Regions from separate parts of the Homo sapiens genome. Here regions 1, 2, 3 and 4 are each linked to region 5. The links are contacts of gene promoters, found by promoter capture Hi-C in blood cells and fetal thymus (Javierre and others, 2016). All regions are on one chromosome and are shown on one strand. Each heading gives the region's core, a stretch centred on a gene start or on the middle of the fragment in contact. The rest is flanking DNA. Distances are from core to core; before and after follow the strand shown. Region 1 overlaps ARIH1 (ariadne RBR E3 ubiquitin protein ligase 1). Region 2 overlaps ARIH1 (ariadne RBR E3 ubiquitin protein ligase 1). Region 3 overlaps ARIH1 (ariadne RBR E3 ubiquitin protein ligase 1). Region 4 overlaps ARIH1 (ariadne RBR E3 ubiquitin protein ligase 1). Region 5 holds the start of HEXA (hexosaminidase subunit alpha).

Region 1 (2,723 bases), core at 121-2,620, 170 kb after region 5:
ATATTAATATTTTGACTATTTTATTGTCTTTAACAGATTCTCCTTGCCAGTTGACATTTATATAGTGCTTACAGTTAAATGTTTCTGTGAGGTAATACTAAGACCCAGGTTTTACAAGGTTTCCTTACTTCTTGGCGTTTTTCCTCCTGCCCTATCATAGACAGTTCCTTCTTAACTTAAATCTTAACTCTGATTTGAGTACTGAAGCTTGGCTGCTTCCAAATATCCACTATAACTTTCTCGCTGTTCTTAATATGGTCTAACAATCTCAACAAACTAGAATTCAAAATCATGACTTGAGATTTACAGTGTAAATTTTTGTTTTGTACTTGTAACTGATGATGGAGAAACCTATTCATTGAACACACTAGGCACTATTCTAAGAAACAATGGAGAATAAATACATAATTCCTAACCAGATAATTTGCAGGTTAGTTGGGTAGATAAGTAGTAAGGTGACATATTCAGAAAGAGTGGTAAGTGCTTTGGTAGGGCAAATATAAGATACGATACTGTGGGAACGTGTTGGAGGGATACCTAACCCAGTTTTTGATCAGGCAGGACTTACCACAGAAATCTGAACTAACATCTGAAGGCATGGTAGTTAGGCTAAGGAGGAAAATGTAGCAAGTCCAAGGAAGAGAGAATGTACTTTCAAGAACTGGGGGATGGTAAATAGTACTAAAAGATTCAGAGAAAAGATTTAAAAAGTTAATTTGAAATGAAATGAAGGAGTGAGGTAGGATGGGAAACCAGACTTCATGGGCTAAAGAGTCACTGACTTGAAGGTGGGAAAGGAAATGGAAGCAATAAATGTAATGAAATTACTCTTTTACAAGAAATTTCACTATGCAAGTGATAGGATAAGATAGCAAAAGGAACAACATGGGTTGGCAAGTAAGGTAAGGCATTATGGAAACTGCTAAGTGTTCCGAAAAGTATCATGACAAAACTAGGATGTCCTTTCCTCATAATTTTTAGACTCATATAGAAGGATAATTTTAACCTCTTCAGTTTTGGAAGTAAATGTCACCTGAAACTCTTCATAAAGTTTTATTATTGGATGAGTGAGTTCTTCACTTACATTGTATAACTCCCACATTTTACTACTCTCCAAGCATTTGTACTTTTTTATTATATATATCTTCAGTATCTTTATCCTTCCAGAAAGCAATTTTTGCTTTATGCAGTGTCACATGCACATTTTAAAATAAGTGCTTTTGATAGCTTAGTTTACAACCCTTTGGAGTTAACTGTCCTGAGTGGCTGCTTCTTTCAAAACAATGTCCTGAGACATTGGAGCACTTTGTAAATTCATAGATTCCAACTTAATGTTTTAGGTTAAAGTAGTTAAGATAATAGCTGTACTGGCCCACCACTGTGCTAGGAAATGTAGCTTCGACTACAGCGTCTCTCTCTCTCTTTTTTTTTTTTTTTTTGAGGCAGAGCCTTGCTCTGTCGCCCAGGCTGGAGTGCAGTGGCATGTTCTCGGCTCACTGCAACCTCCACCCCGCAGTTTCAAGCGATTCTCCTGCCTCAGCCTCCCGAGTAGCTGGGATTACAGCCGCCCACCACCACACCTGTCTAATTTTTGTATTTTTAGTAGACATGGGGTTCCACCATGTTGTCCAGGCTGGTCTCCAACTCCTGACTTAAGGTGATCCACCCACCTTGACCTCCCAAAGTGCTGGGATTACAGGAGTGAGCCGCCACGGCCAGCCAGTGTCTCATTTTTATGAAGTAAATAATTTGTATTTTCTAAGAATAAGATATGTGAAGTAGGTAAAGGCAGAGTTGAAATTGTGAGGAAGGGTGGTCCACCATCCCGTCCCCCATTCCTGAAGCCCCTCTGTGGAATCTTGGTGCTGCTGGAAACTGCTTGAAAATACCTACGTCCCACCCTATTTTCCTTTTAACACATTACATTTTACACACAAGGGAACCGATTCCCAGGTCATTTGTTCAATTTTTATAAACAAAGGGGTTTCAATTTTAGAGGTTATATGGACAACTTATTATGGAAGAAAGATTCTTAATTTTCTTACTGCTATTTGACATTAGTTGCTGTGTATGTAAAGTGATGCAGATAAATGAAACCTTTAAGAGTGTATTCTTAAGTTTCTTTAAGTCCATTAATTTCTTTTGTAGATAATATTTCATGTATTTTTCGTGTACTCTCTTGATCGGATGTATTTGTGATATAAACAGGGATAAGTTTAGTGAATAGATAATATGATCCCCTGGGACAGGGGAAAGCCCAGGGAGCCATGTAGGTGAACCTAGCTCAAGGTTATGAGGAAACGAATATATCAGAGGAGGGAGAGGGAAAGGGAAGTAAGACAGACAGGAAGATATCTGCGATAATAATATGTTCCTCGAAAGCACAATGAATATGTATCTTTAGACTACAGATTTGTGTCTTGGTTTTTGGTGTTTTTATTTTTTTGCTCTATCTTTAGACATCCATGTATGATTTATTTTTCTAACTTGTTTAATCTTGTTATCTGATTAGAGAAGTTATTTAAAAAGAATAAAAAGCTTTTATCTGTGTGCTGAAGTTGTAACAAGGTTGAGAGAGGTGCATCTCACACGAGTGTGATTACATTTATGAACTATCTTTTTATCTTAAAATGAGCTCTAGACTAGAAGTCAAAAAAGGTTGAGACTTAAAGTGATCACTTAGTAACCATTGTGACCGTTGATCTCTGTTAAGGATTCCTACT
Region 2 (2,700 bases), core at 164-2,663, 190 kb after region 5:
AGGTAATTAACTGTAAAGCAGACATGGGTTCTCTCCTTGTATTTGCCAGTCACTAGAAACTAGTGACAATACTGTGGAACTATAAGGCATGAAATGATTGGCTTATTTACTTGCTTACAGTAGGTAGGCCTTAATTCTATTAACTCTTTGTGTCACTTAACAGCTTTAACTGTGGAGAAAATTGGCATGATCCTGTTAAATGTAAGGTGAGTTTGTCTGACATTTCAATTTTTAAATAATGGCACACTTCTAAGACTTAGTGACTAAAAATCATAGCTGATGATTTTGTTATCTATCTATTGATAGATTTTTTTTTATCCTTTTAATTTCAGATGATCATTACATGTATTCAGAGGTAATTCCTTAGGATAAGCCAAGTCAGCTCCTGATTGTTATTAGGATAACCATGGCTAAGGCACCTCTTTGTCAGGCTTTGTAATTAGGGGAATACACACCTTGCAGTTGGGCTTCTCTTCAAGCTCTAGGTTCCCCACTCAGCTTCTGCCAAAGAAAATCCTGCTTTGGTTGATTTTATATATACTGGACATTGTAGCTATGGGATTTCCCTGGCTTAAGAGGATGTGAGCCTAGTGATAATCTTATTCATTGGCTTTTACATTTAAGCTTGACTATAGTTAAGTGCTAAAGTAATTTGCTATTTTTAAAAGTCTTTTGTTGTATCCTAACCGTTGTTATTTTCAAACAGTGGTTAAAGAAATGGATTAAAAAGTGTGATGATGACAGTGAAACCTCCAATTGGATTGCAGCCAACACAAAGGTTGGTGTTTTCCTTCAGTAACTCTTGGTAATAAAAATGATAAGGATTGGTACTTTGGCATTAGCAAAAGCAATGAGGTGACCTACTTACAGGCTTTGTTTCATCTTTTTCTCCATTGAGTCTTTTTTTTTTTTTCCCAGAATGTTTGCCTGTTATTTCCTTTTTCTCTTTGAGTTTATTTTAGAGTATTGAGTACTGTAGTACAGCATCCACAGTTCTCTGCCTTAGGTTTCTTCTACTGGAAAAAAAATTAGTGTTCTGTAGAGGAAAAAGCTGATAATTTTTCAAGTGTGGGATTTGTGCTTGGCTGCCATTTAGTATACAAATGCATTGGAGTTTACTCCGCCTAGCTTGGTTCTGTTAGGCTAATTTACATTTTTGTTTCTAATTTTTTGTTTTGAAGTACATTGCTCTTGATACTAGTTTCAAAATTCAATTTCAAAATTCACTTTCTTAACCCCAGACAAATGTCTTAGAAGTGTTTAAATCTTGAGTACCCTTCTCCTCGATCACTAATCTAATGAGCAAGCATTTGAATGCCAACCGTGTACCCAGCTAGTCTTTTAATACAAAGTCGTATTATCCATCCTTTATGTAATTCAGTCCTATCCTATCCCCATAGTGAGTGACTTGGGTAATGAATGGTAGGTTGGTTCATGGGCTATTCATTTTTAGTATTATTTTGTACATGTAAAGATGATGCTTTAAAGAATGCTGAGTTGTTTGACCCATAGTATATAAAGCTATCTTTGAACTGTTGCCTCAGTCATCACAGGACAATGAGATTAAGAAGTGTGTAAACAATGAAGGCCGACGCAGGTTGTCTGTGTGTGTTTAAATATACATCTTACATACTTATATATAAAACATGAATTTATATTTCTGTCTCCCAGAAAGTAGTGAAACAGTGAATCTTGCCACATAAAACAAATGCCCAAGTCTTTAAGGAATATATGGTAGAAATTAATATTTTTTGTTCCCTCCAAAACCATCACGATAAGCATAACTCACGTCAATCAAAGAAAACCTTACTATAAATATACTGTAATGTCAGAAAGTGGTTACTTGTTTTGTTATTAAAAAAAAATTCTTAGCCAAGCATTCTTTTTTTGAAAATTGAAGATTTTCCCACAAGAAATGTTCCTTAAGTCCCAGAATTCTTTAATATGCTCTGAAAAACTAATATTTAGAATAAGGCAATTATATTTTCACTAAATTGTTTAATTAAATGGTAGCCTTTTTTCTACATCTAGAGAAATTCCTACTTGTAAGCCCCAAAGATGTTTAAAATAGGGAGTACAGGCTTGAATATGTTTGGCTTAGTTTAGATTGTAGATTACCAAGGAAGAATGGCAATTTGTAAAACAAATTTAGCTGCTCAGTATTTTTGAGAGAAAACTGAAGAGTTTTTCTCTTGAGGTTTTAGAAGCTTTTAAGATTATTAGCTCCCTAAACAGATATGCATATTGTCAGTGATATCCTAACATTTTGGAGGTTTAATACTATTAGGTTAATTATAACCAAGAAATGTAGAATGTAGAATGACGCATATTTTATGCCTGAAATTTGCTTGTTTGGAAAAAATGTAAAATTTCTTATGTGGGTGATTTCAAAAATTTGATTTGAAATATATAATTAAAAAGTTGCTATATTGGCCTATTTTAAATTGCTATCATTGATGGGCAGCATAGTCAATTTCACAAAGAAGGCCAAATTGTGCAAATACTAATATAGTGGGTGATCCCTCCTTGGGAGAGTTACAAACCTCAATCACAAATGCAAAAACAAAAAATCCATAGGCCTACAGAGCAGTAATTTTGGCTTACTAGCAACCAAGAATATGATATGAGGCCAGGTGCAGTGGCTCACACCTGTAATCCTAACACTTTGGGAGGCCGAGGTAGGCAGATTGCTTGAGCTTG
Region 3 (2,700 bases), core at 86-2,585, 230 kb after region 5:
GTTGAAAAGTTACCGATGCCTGATTCCTCTTCTATGTCCTCAGCCCCCACCATAAAAATAGATAAATGCCATTTTTTTTGTATGCCCAGCACAGCTATATGATTTGAATAATCTTGATAAGCAGGGTCACATTTGAGGAGATTTGCTAAGGGAAATGAAGATCCATCTGTGACACAAGAAACATGTTCTATGTGATTTCTGGGATTTTCCTGTGAACATACTTCTTGTTTGTTTGTTTTACAGTGGATCTCACTCTGTCACCCAGGCTGGAGTTCAGTGGTGCAATCATAGCTCACTGCAACCTTGAGCTCCTGGGCTCAGGAGAGCCTCTCTCCTCAGTCTCCCAAGTAGCTAGGACTACAGACACATGCCATCATGCCAGGCTCATTTTAAAATTTTTTGTAGAGACGGGTCTCACTATGTTGCTCAGGCTGGTATTGAACTCCTGGGCTCAAGCAATCCTCCTGCCTCAGCATCTCAAAGTGTTGGGATTACAGGTGTGAACCATAGTATCCAACCTATTATGTTTTTTTAAAAAGAGATTGTTCTAATTATGTATATAATTAAAGTACATTAGGTTTAGTGATTGCAATTTGAGAAACCAATGTCCTTTCTTATTGAAAAAGGCCCTGGTACAGAAAGTGTTCTATCTTCCTCACAAGATCTGAGGTCAAAGGAGAGATTTTGAAACATTATAGCAATGGCTTCTAGTTATTGAATAAAGAATGTCATTTGCTCCTCACAGGACCCCTTTCAGGGAGATTTCACATATTGGGAAACAGCCTCATGAGCTTTCTACAAACATCTTTGTCCTTAAGTCTTCCCATTTCAGTAATTGGCTGTACCACTCATCCAGCAGCTTTCAAAGTAAGAAACCTGGCAATCTTCCTTTAACATCCATTTCCCTTTCCCTCATTCCCCCATATCCAATCATGTGTATTGGAGGTTTTTCCACCTCTAAACTTGAGAACCCATTTACTTTTTCTCCATCTCCTTTGCCATCACACTAGTCCAAGTGAAGTGTTTCATCATCTCATTTGCAGCATCCTTTAGTTTACCCTAGATTATCAATTTTTGTCCCCCTCCCAATTCAGTCTCTACTCATGAGCTAACATGAGTTTATTAAGTGTTCATTCTGACCATGCCATTCCTTGCTCAAAATTCTCTAGTGCCTTCCCAATGCCCTTAAAATAAAATTCCTCATATGGCCTTTGTGGATCTGCACTCCTACCTCTTCTCCTATTGCAACCAACCCTGTTACCTTTTTCTCTTTTCACACTGGTCTTCATTCTGTGCTGCAAACTGGCTGAGATTCTTCCATCCTCAGGGCCTTTGCACAAGTTCTTCCTTTGCCTTAGAATTCTTTCCTGGCCTGCACATGTCTTCATCCCCTTTCCCTAAGCTAATGCCTTACCCTTTAGGTCTCATTTTAAACATCTCTTACCCAGGAAAAATTTCCCTGTCCAAACAAGTCTAGATTGGCTCCCCATTGTTTGTTCTAACTGTTCTATATTTCTCCTTCTTAGCATTTATCACAATTCTTGGTATGTTGTGCTTTTCACTTTCTTAGTCGCTATTATTGGAGTAGGTAATACATCCATATAGTACAAAATTCAAAATGTATTAAAGGTATAGAGTAAAAAGTCTTCTCTTCCCTGTCCCCCCGCTACCCAGTTCTCCTCTTTAGAACCACTTTTAGCATTTTGAATATCCTTCCAGAAATATTTTCTAAGTATACAAGCAATTATGTATATAATATTCCTCTTTATTTTTGCCTTTTTATTAATACAGATACTATATGCATTTTCTGCACTTTATCTGTTAATAATATATCTTGGCAATTATTCAATATTAATATGTAAATAGTTGCCTCTTTCTTTTTCATGCGCCATATAATATGGACTTATAATTTATTTAACCTCTATCTAGGTTGGTTTTAGGCATTGGTTATTACAAATAATGCTGCATTGAATACCTTTGTATGTAAAGTCATTTCCCACATCTATGCCTATAGAATAAATTACTAGAATTGAAATAATTCAGTTAAAGATTATGTGCATTTTTAATTTTGGTAGTTATTGCCAAACTGCTCTCAATGGAAGTTTTATGAATTCCCACTAGTGAATGCATTTGTCCTCACAATTATGTCAGTGAAATTTTTGTTCTTTGCCAATGCAAGAAATGGAAAGTATCTCTTGGAAACTAATTTGCATGTTTTTTTTCCTTGCACAGTTATATTTTCATATGTTAAAGAGCCATTTGTATTTCTTGGTGAATTGTTCATAAACTTTGCTTACTTATTATCTAATGTCTGACTAATTTGCTACACTCTAAATTCCCAATTCATACTTAAGTCTCGCCCTTGCAATTTAGATGTACAATCTGCCTCTTCAGTGGTTTCCACACCAAAAAATCCACAGGCTCCTGAATTTTATATGGGCCTAAGAGTCTTACTGAAAATTGGAAGTCTTAAGGTGTAGTCTATTTTATGCAGTGTGAGGCCTTTCATGCTCTGAAATGTACCACTCTTGACTGACTTTTTCTTCTTCACCCTGTCCGGCACTGTGCCCTTATTAGCCAGAGAAATGTTCCCCCTTTCTCCCAGGAAACGTTCTGACCTTACCCTGGTCCCTCAAGGACTCTCCTTCTCCCCCAAATTAACTTTCAAGGAGTTTCTCCAACCCAAAATGGCACCCTTCC
Region 4 (2,774 bases), core at 181-2,680, 160 kb after region 5:
GTATTTAAGGCTCAGAAAACAAAACTAAGTGGGGCACAAAGTTTAAGGAATATATGTTGAACAATTATGAGATTGAATGTCTGGAGTATGCGAAGAATAGAGGGGAAATGGTTGGAAATGTTTAATGCACGTTATAAGGGCCTTGAATTTTAAGTAAGTGAATTTGGAATTTTTCTGTCTTTATTGGGAAGCCCTTGAACGTTGTTTTATGGAGAAATAGTGATGGAAAAGCATTATTTCAGAAAAAAATCTAGTAATAAATGAGCTGTTTTAACTATCCAGGTAAAAGGAAAATATTGTCCTGACTTACAATAGTGACAGCTAAATTGATAGCAGAGGGTAGATGGAAAGAGAAGTAAAATTAGTTTTAACTGAGACAAAATATAGGAGACTCTGGGAAACTTCTGGTAATTTTGACCGTTCCTTTCACTAAATACACTAGAAGAGGCTAGGTGAAATACTGAAACATGTTTGAAAAGTAAGATTATCAAATAATTAGTAAGATAGGAAATAGAGGTTCAAGGTTGAGAGTTTGGGAATCAAGGGAAATTTAGAGAAACAAGCTTCCAGTCCTTGTTGCTCTAGCAGTGTATGTTGATCCAGAAGAGGTAGCTAAGAGACTTAGCTGTGAGTTTTGTTTGCCCTTTGTTAGTAGAGGGGGAAGTTGGAATATTAGGTCTACTAAGAGCGAAAATTGAATACACTAGCTCCTTAAAGACTGAAGATGATCTTCATGTCTTTTGGGTAGTCCAGAAAACCTTAAACCTTGAACTTGGGTTAAGATAGCCCCCGTATATAACAGAAACAAACGTAAATCTTCTCTAGGGAAATAACATTATTTAAGACCTTAAACTATTTTCTCAAATTATTTTTCTAATTAAAACATAACAACCTGGAACTTAAGATACTGGAATTGTCAGACCTAGACCAAAATGAGTATGCTATCACCAGGGAGCTGTCATTCAGATTTGGAAAAAAATCAGAATTTTTATAACTAAACAAAATAAGCAAAATTAACTTTGTGACATAGTTTAACAGCAGACTGGACAAAGCTGAAGAGAGTTTAGTGTATTTGAAAATCAAACAATGATCCAGAATTAAGTATATCCATTAAAAGATGGAAAATACAGAAGAGATTAAGAAATACAGAGGATATAATGAGAAGGTCTCATTGAGTTTTAGAAAGAGAGGAGAGAATGTGGCAGAGGCAGTATTTTAAGATAAAAATGACTGAGAATTTTGCAGATTGGTAAAAGACCCAAATGTCATAGATTGAAGAAACATAACAGTTCCCATGTGTGATAGCTACTTGTTTCACTGATCCTAAGATACACAGTTTTTCACATTTTAACATCTGAAATCTGGATGCATCTTTCAATTATTGACACCTTACAGTCCAAAAAGATTGAAATTTTGACTCGTGAAAAATTTTCCATGTCAACTTCTGTTAAGATCATGAAATTTCAGCACGAAAGCATTTTAGATTTTATGAAATATGGTAAAAAGAAATCCACATTTTTATTTATTTATTTATTTATTTATTTATTGAAACACAGTTTCATTCTGTTGTCCAGGCTGGAGTGCAGTGGCACAGTCTCAGCTCAGTGCAGCTTGCACCTCCCGGGTTCAAGGCATTCTAGGGCCTCAGCTTTCTGAGTACCTGGAATTACAGGCACGAGCCACTAGGCCTGGTTAACTTTAGTATTTTTAGTAGAGATGGGGTTTCGCCACGTTGGCCAGGCTGGTCTCGAACTCCTGACCTCAGGTGATGTGCCTGCCTCAGCCTCCCAAAGTGCTGGTATTATAGGGGTGAGCCACTGGGCCTGACCAGAAATCCACATTTAAAAACATCTTAGTAAAACTACAAAATCAGCAAAAATAAAAAATCTAAATCAATGAGATACAAGAAAGGCTGCTTTCAAAAGAGTGAAAGTATAGGTATAATAATATTCTAGAGCACAGCTCAACAGCAACAGTGAAAGTGATAGTAAGATGATACCTCAGTCTTTTGAAAGAAAATAAACCTTACCTAGAATACTATGTTCATGGAAAATATATTCATAAACAGTATGTTTTAATTAATATAAATGGTTTTATGTTGTACCTAGCTTTTGTATCTTTTTAAAGCCAACCAACATTTTGTTCTGCCAGTGTTGATTGAAGTTTCAAATACTCATAATTGTTATTTAAGCAACTATTTGTCTGTTAAAGGGAAAAATCTTGCAGAATGTTGTACTTTGGAATTTATAACCTTAAATGCATAATGAGCTAAGCATTCATCTTAAAAGTCTCAAGTAATAAGCTTAGAGGTCTCAAGTTAGGAAAAGAACAACAAAATAAATATAGGGAAAATACAAGGAAAGAAATAAAGAACAGAATATAATAAAATAGAAAACATGCAGTAGAAGGGATCAAGAAGCCGTAAGATTTTTTTTTTTTTTTAAGACTGATAACGTTGACACTTTGATGAGGTTAGGAAAAAGAGAGATCCTAAATAACCAGTATTAGGAATGAAAACAGAGTATCACTAGGATCTTGTGGATGGTTTAAAAAAAAACTCTTAAAATTATGGACAACTATTCAAACTTGATAGACGAAATGGGTAGATTCCTAGAAATAGGCAATTTCCCAAAACTGACATAAGAAATAGTAAACCTGTATCCTTATTAAGTATAAAGAAATGAAATCCATAATTTAAAATGTTCTTATAAAGAAAAGTTGAAATTCAAATGGTTATACTGGAAAGTTCTACCATAACATTTAATATGACAGTA
Region 5 (2,700 bases), core at 30-2,529:
ATTTTCAGTACTGATTACATAGCTGCCTAAAAGAAAACTGTTAGCCCCTTCCATTTTATGTGAAACCAATGTCTAAAGCGCTCTTGACTCTTCAACCCCACATTTTCCCCACCCTCATCCCTCCTCAATCCCCAGCCCCCACTCATCACATCCACTAGACCTGAACTTTGAACTCAATCATAATTCTTTGTGCCTCTGCTCAAGCCCTTCTTCCTGCCTGGAATACCCTCTTTTCAGTCCCGGCTAATTACATCTACCATCCCATTCCAAGTGGCCGCTGGAAACTCACTTCCTTATGTTCTATGATTTCTTTCACAATTTACACTTTTTTTGTTTTGTTTTGTTTTGTTTGGGGGGGGGGGTTGTTTTTCTGAGAGGGAGTCTTGCTCTGTTGCCCAGGCTGGAGTGCAGTGGCGCGATCTCAGCTCACCACAACCTCCACCTCATGGGTTCAACCGATTCTCCTGCCTCAGCATCCCGAGTAGCTGGGACTACAGGCGCGCGCCGCCACGCCTGGCTAATTTTTTGTGTTTTTGGTAGAGACGGGGTTTCACTATGTTGGCCGGGCTGGTCTCGAACTCCTGACCTCGTGATCCGCCCGCCAAACATTCTATGTGCCAGAAACTTGTATGTAACTTTGCATAGTTCTTGTATTATGTCTCCCCAATTTTGAGTGTTTTCTCTGGTCTCTACTCAGCCCTTGCTCACAGTCTCACTAGGACCCTGGCTAGCTTGAACACGGTCAGAAGGATCACCTTAGATTTCTGCTGGCACAGTATTTTCCATAAATTAATCTCCTGATTGAACCGTAGTCCTATAGTAGTTATCTTTGGATGAAAACCTAATGCAGCTCGAGGAGGAAGTGGAGTGCCTGTGATCAGAGGGCTGGACAAAAGCCCATAGGGCGTCTCTGGAGCCCTGGGGGAACTGTCCCCAGGCAGGCACTCTCAGGGCCCAGGAACAGGGCGGGACAAGTCCGACTCACCTGTGAGGTAAGGACGGGGCCAAGACCCGGAACCGAAAAGCAGGTCACGATAGCGCTGGAAGGCCTCGTCGAGGACTGAGCAGCCGGGCTGCGCGGCCGAGCTGACATCGTACTGGAATTGAAAGTTGTTCGGGTAAAGGACGTAGCGCTGGTCGGAGGTTTGGAAGTTCTGAGGCCAGGGCCAGAGGGCCGTCGCCCGTCCTGCGAACGCTGCCGCCAGCAGCAGCGAAAACCAAAGCCTGGAGCTTGTCATGGCCCGCTGGTCTCCCCTCTCGGAGGGGGCTGGCCACGTGAGACCCTGGTCAGGTGAGCGGCGCCCCCGTGACTTATCGGCGAATCACGTGACCAGAGGCGGCTCTGCGCCTGCGACCCCAGGAGGACCCACACCCTGCCCTTTCACTTCCGGCCTGGACCTGAGGCTCCTGCTACGTGCAGCGGATTGTGCCGGGCGTCGGCAACTGCTCGGCTCGCCAGACTGTTCACGGGCCCAGTAGAGCAGTAAATAACCGGCCACCCCTGCGGCCGTGCCGGCCGTGATGGAACTAGACAGCTCACCCGACTCGAGAAGAACGGGGTGGGGAGGCGAGGACGCAGGGCGACCTGGAGAAGAAAGTTTCCCAGATGGCTCTAGGGTGAATCTTGAATGTTGTGATGCAGCTCGCCAGGCCTACGGGGAGGTAAAGGACTTGCCAGGCTGAAGTAACTTCAGAAGCAGAAAAACGGAGGATTAAAACCACAAGTCGTTGTGATGTGAAATTTCGTGGGGCAAGAAAGGGCCGGAAGTAGGTAGTCTGCACGGCTCTGCTAGAGAGAGGATCACAAGATCACACAAATGTGATCTACTTATGACTGGAAAAAATGTGTACTTTCAGAGCCAGCTTGAGGCATTCCATTGCCTCCAATATGAGCTCTTCCCTTCAAGATTGACTATAAATCTCTTAGTTACAACTCACATCCCCTTTCCCCAGACAAAACCCCACATAGCCCGGTGTGTATTTACTGAAAGCAGTAAGATATTGCTGGGGCTTTGGGTGCAAGATGGAGAGTGCTCAGAGATAATGACAGGGGCCTGGTCCTGCAGGGCCTTACGTAGAAAGTCAAGGAATTTATTCTCTGAGCAATTGAAAATCATCCCGAAAGATCTGCATTTTAGAAATACCATGTTGAGTAGTTGCATAAGAAACCAGTTAGGAGGCCCCTTTTTATTGGAGGTAGAGAATAATGAGAGACTGAACTACAGAAGTGGGGAAGGAAGACAGCTGTAGATCCAAGAAATAGTATCCGGAAGAGAGGCTTGAGAAGTGATCAAGGAGAATTCCACAGTTATCAGAGACCCTGTCTTCCTTGTTCACCACTATATTACCAGAACATAATACAAATAATGCTATTGTTATTGGGTGGCATTATTTGGTTAGTAGGTACTTTTTAAAATTTTTAAATTTAATTTTAGTATTAAAATACATGTAAAGATCAGGAAAATGAACTTTTAAAAATAAAGGGCTTTCACTGGGCATGATAACACATCCCTGTAGTCCCAGCTACTCCCAGCTATTCAGGAGGCTGAGGCGGCAGGATCACTTGAACCAAGGAGTTCAAGTTTAGCCTGGGCAGTATAGTGAAACCCTTTCTCAAAAACAAATAAAGGGCTACTGAAATAATGATAATTTATATTCAGGTCGTAGGTACCTAATTACTAGTTACACATACATGGCTTT

Evidence for each region. Contacts are between HindIII fragments. The CHiCAGO score rates a contact against its expected background, and 5 or more counts as called.
Region 1: a contact is called between a fragment that was not itself captured here and the fragment with the promoter of HEXA in region 5, in 9 of 17 cell types (M0 macrophages, M1 macrophages, monocytes and 6 more). The highest score is 7.5, in M0 macrophages.
Region 2: a contact is called between a fragment that was not itself captured here and the fragment with the promoter of HEXA in region 5, in 13 of 17 cell types (M0 macrophages, M1 macrophages, monocytes and 10 more). The highest score is 11.9, in M0 macrophages.
Region 3: a fragment that was not itself captured here is called in contact with the fragment with the promoter of HEXA in region 5 in 5 of 17 cell types (M2 macrophages, naive CD8 T cells, M1 macrophages and 2 more); the score reaches 6.2 in M2 macrophages.
Region 4: a contact is called between a fragment that was not itself captured here and the fragment with the promoter of HEXA in region 5, in 14 of 17 cell types (naive CD4 T cells, total B cells, naive CD8 T cells and 11 more). The highest score is 11.3, in naive CD4 T cells.

What each region holds. Positions count from the first base shown.
Region 1 is chr15:72,547,667-72,550,389 of GRCh38, forward strand. The region is part of intron 3 of ARIH1 (ariadne RBR E3 ubiquitin protein ligase 1); the gene reads left to right. Among named protein-coding and RNA genes, the nearest start is that of MIR630, 38 kb to the right of the region's middle. The HindIII fragment of the contact is 2,331 bases long and covers 206-2,536 here.
Region 2 is chr15:72,566,400-72,569,099 of GRCh38, forward strand. ARIH1 (ariadne RBR E3 ubiquitin protein ligase 1) reads left to right here. Exons shown (of 14, transcript NM_005744.5): 8 at 164-206; 9 at 707-778. Among named protein-coding and RNA genes, the nearest start is that of MIR630, 19 kb to the right of the region's middle. The HindIII fragment of the contact is 1,583 bases long and covers 623-2,205 here.
Region 3 is chr15:72,600,164-72,602,863 of GRCh38, forward strand. ARIH1 (ariadne RBR E3 ubiquitin protein ligase 1) reads left to right here. Exons shown (of 14, transcript NM_005744.5): 14 at 1-2,700. Among named protein-coding and RNA genes, the nearest start is that of MIR630, 14 kb to the left of the region's middle. The HindIII fragment of the contact is 3,132 bases long and covers 1-2,700 here.
Region 4 is chr15:72,529,739-72,532,512 of GRCh38, forward strand. All of the region lies in intron 2 of ARIH1 (ariadne RBR E3 ubiquitin protein ligase 1), which reads left to right. Among named protein-coding and RNA genes, the nearest start is that of MIR630, 56 kb to the right of the region's middle. The HindIII fragment of the contact is 1,739 bases long and covers 562-2,300 here.
Region 5 is chr15:72,374,735-72,377,434 of GRCh38, forward strand. It overlaps HEXA (hexosaminidase subunit alpha), which reads right to left and starts at 1,280. Exons shown (of 14, transcript NM_000520.6): 1 at 986-1,280. The coding sequence starts at 1,238. HEXA-AS1 (HEXA antisense RNA 1) reads left to right here and starts at 1,379. Exons shown (of 1, transcript NR_027262.1): 1 at 1,379-2,700. RefSeq lists enhancers at 516-1,071, 1,072-1,628, 1,520-1,659, 1,990-2,039. The HindIII fragment of the contact is 8,315 bases long and covers 1-2,700 here.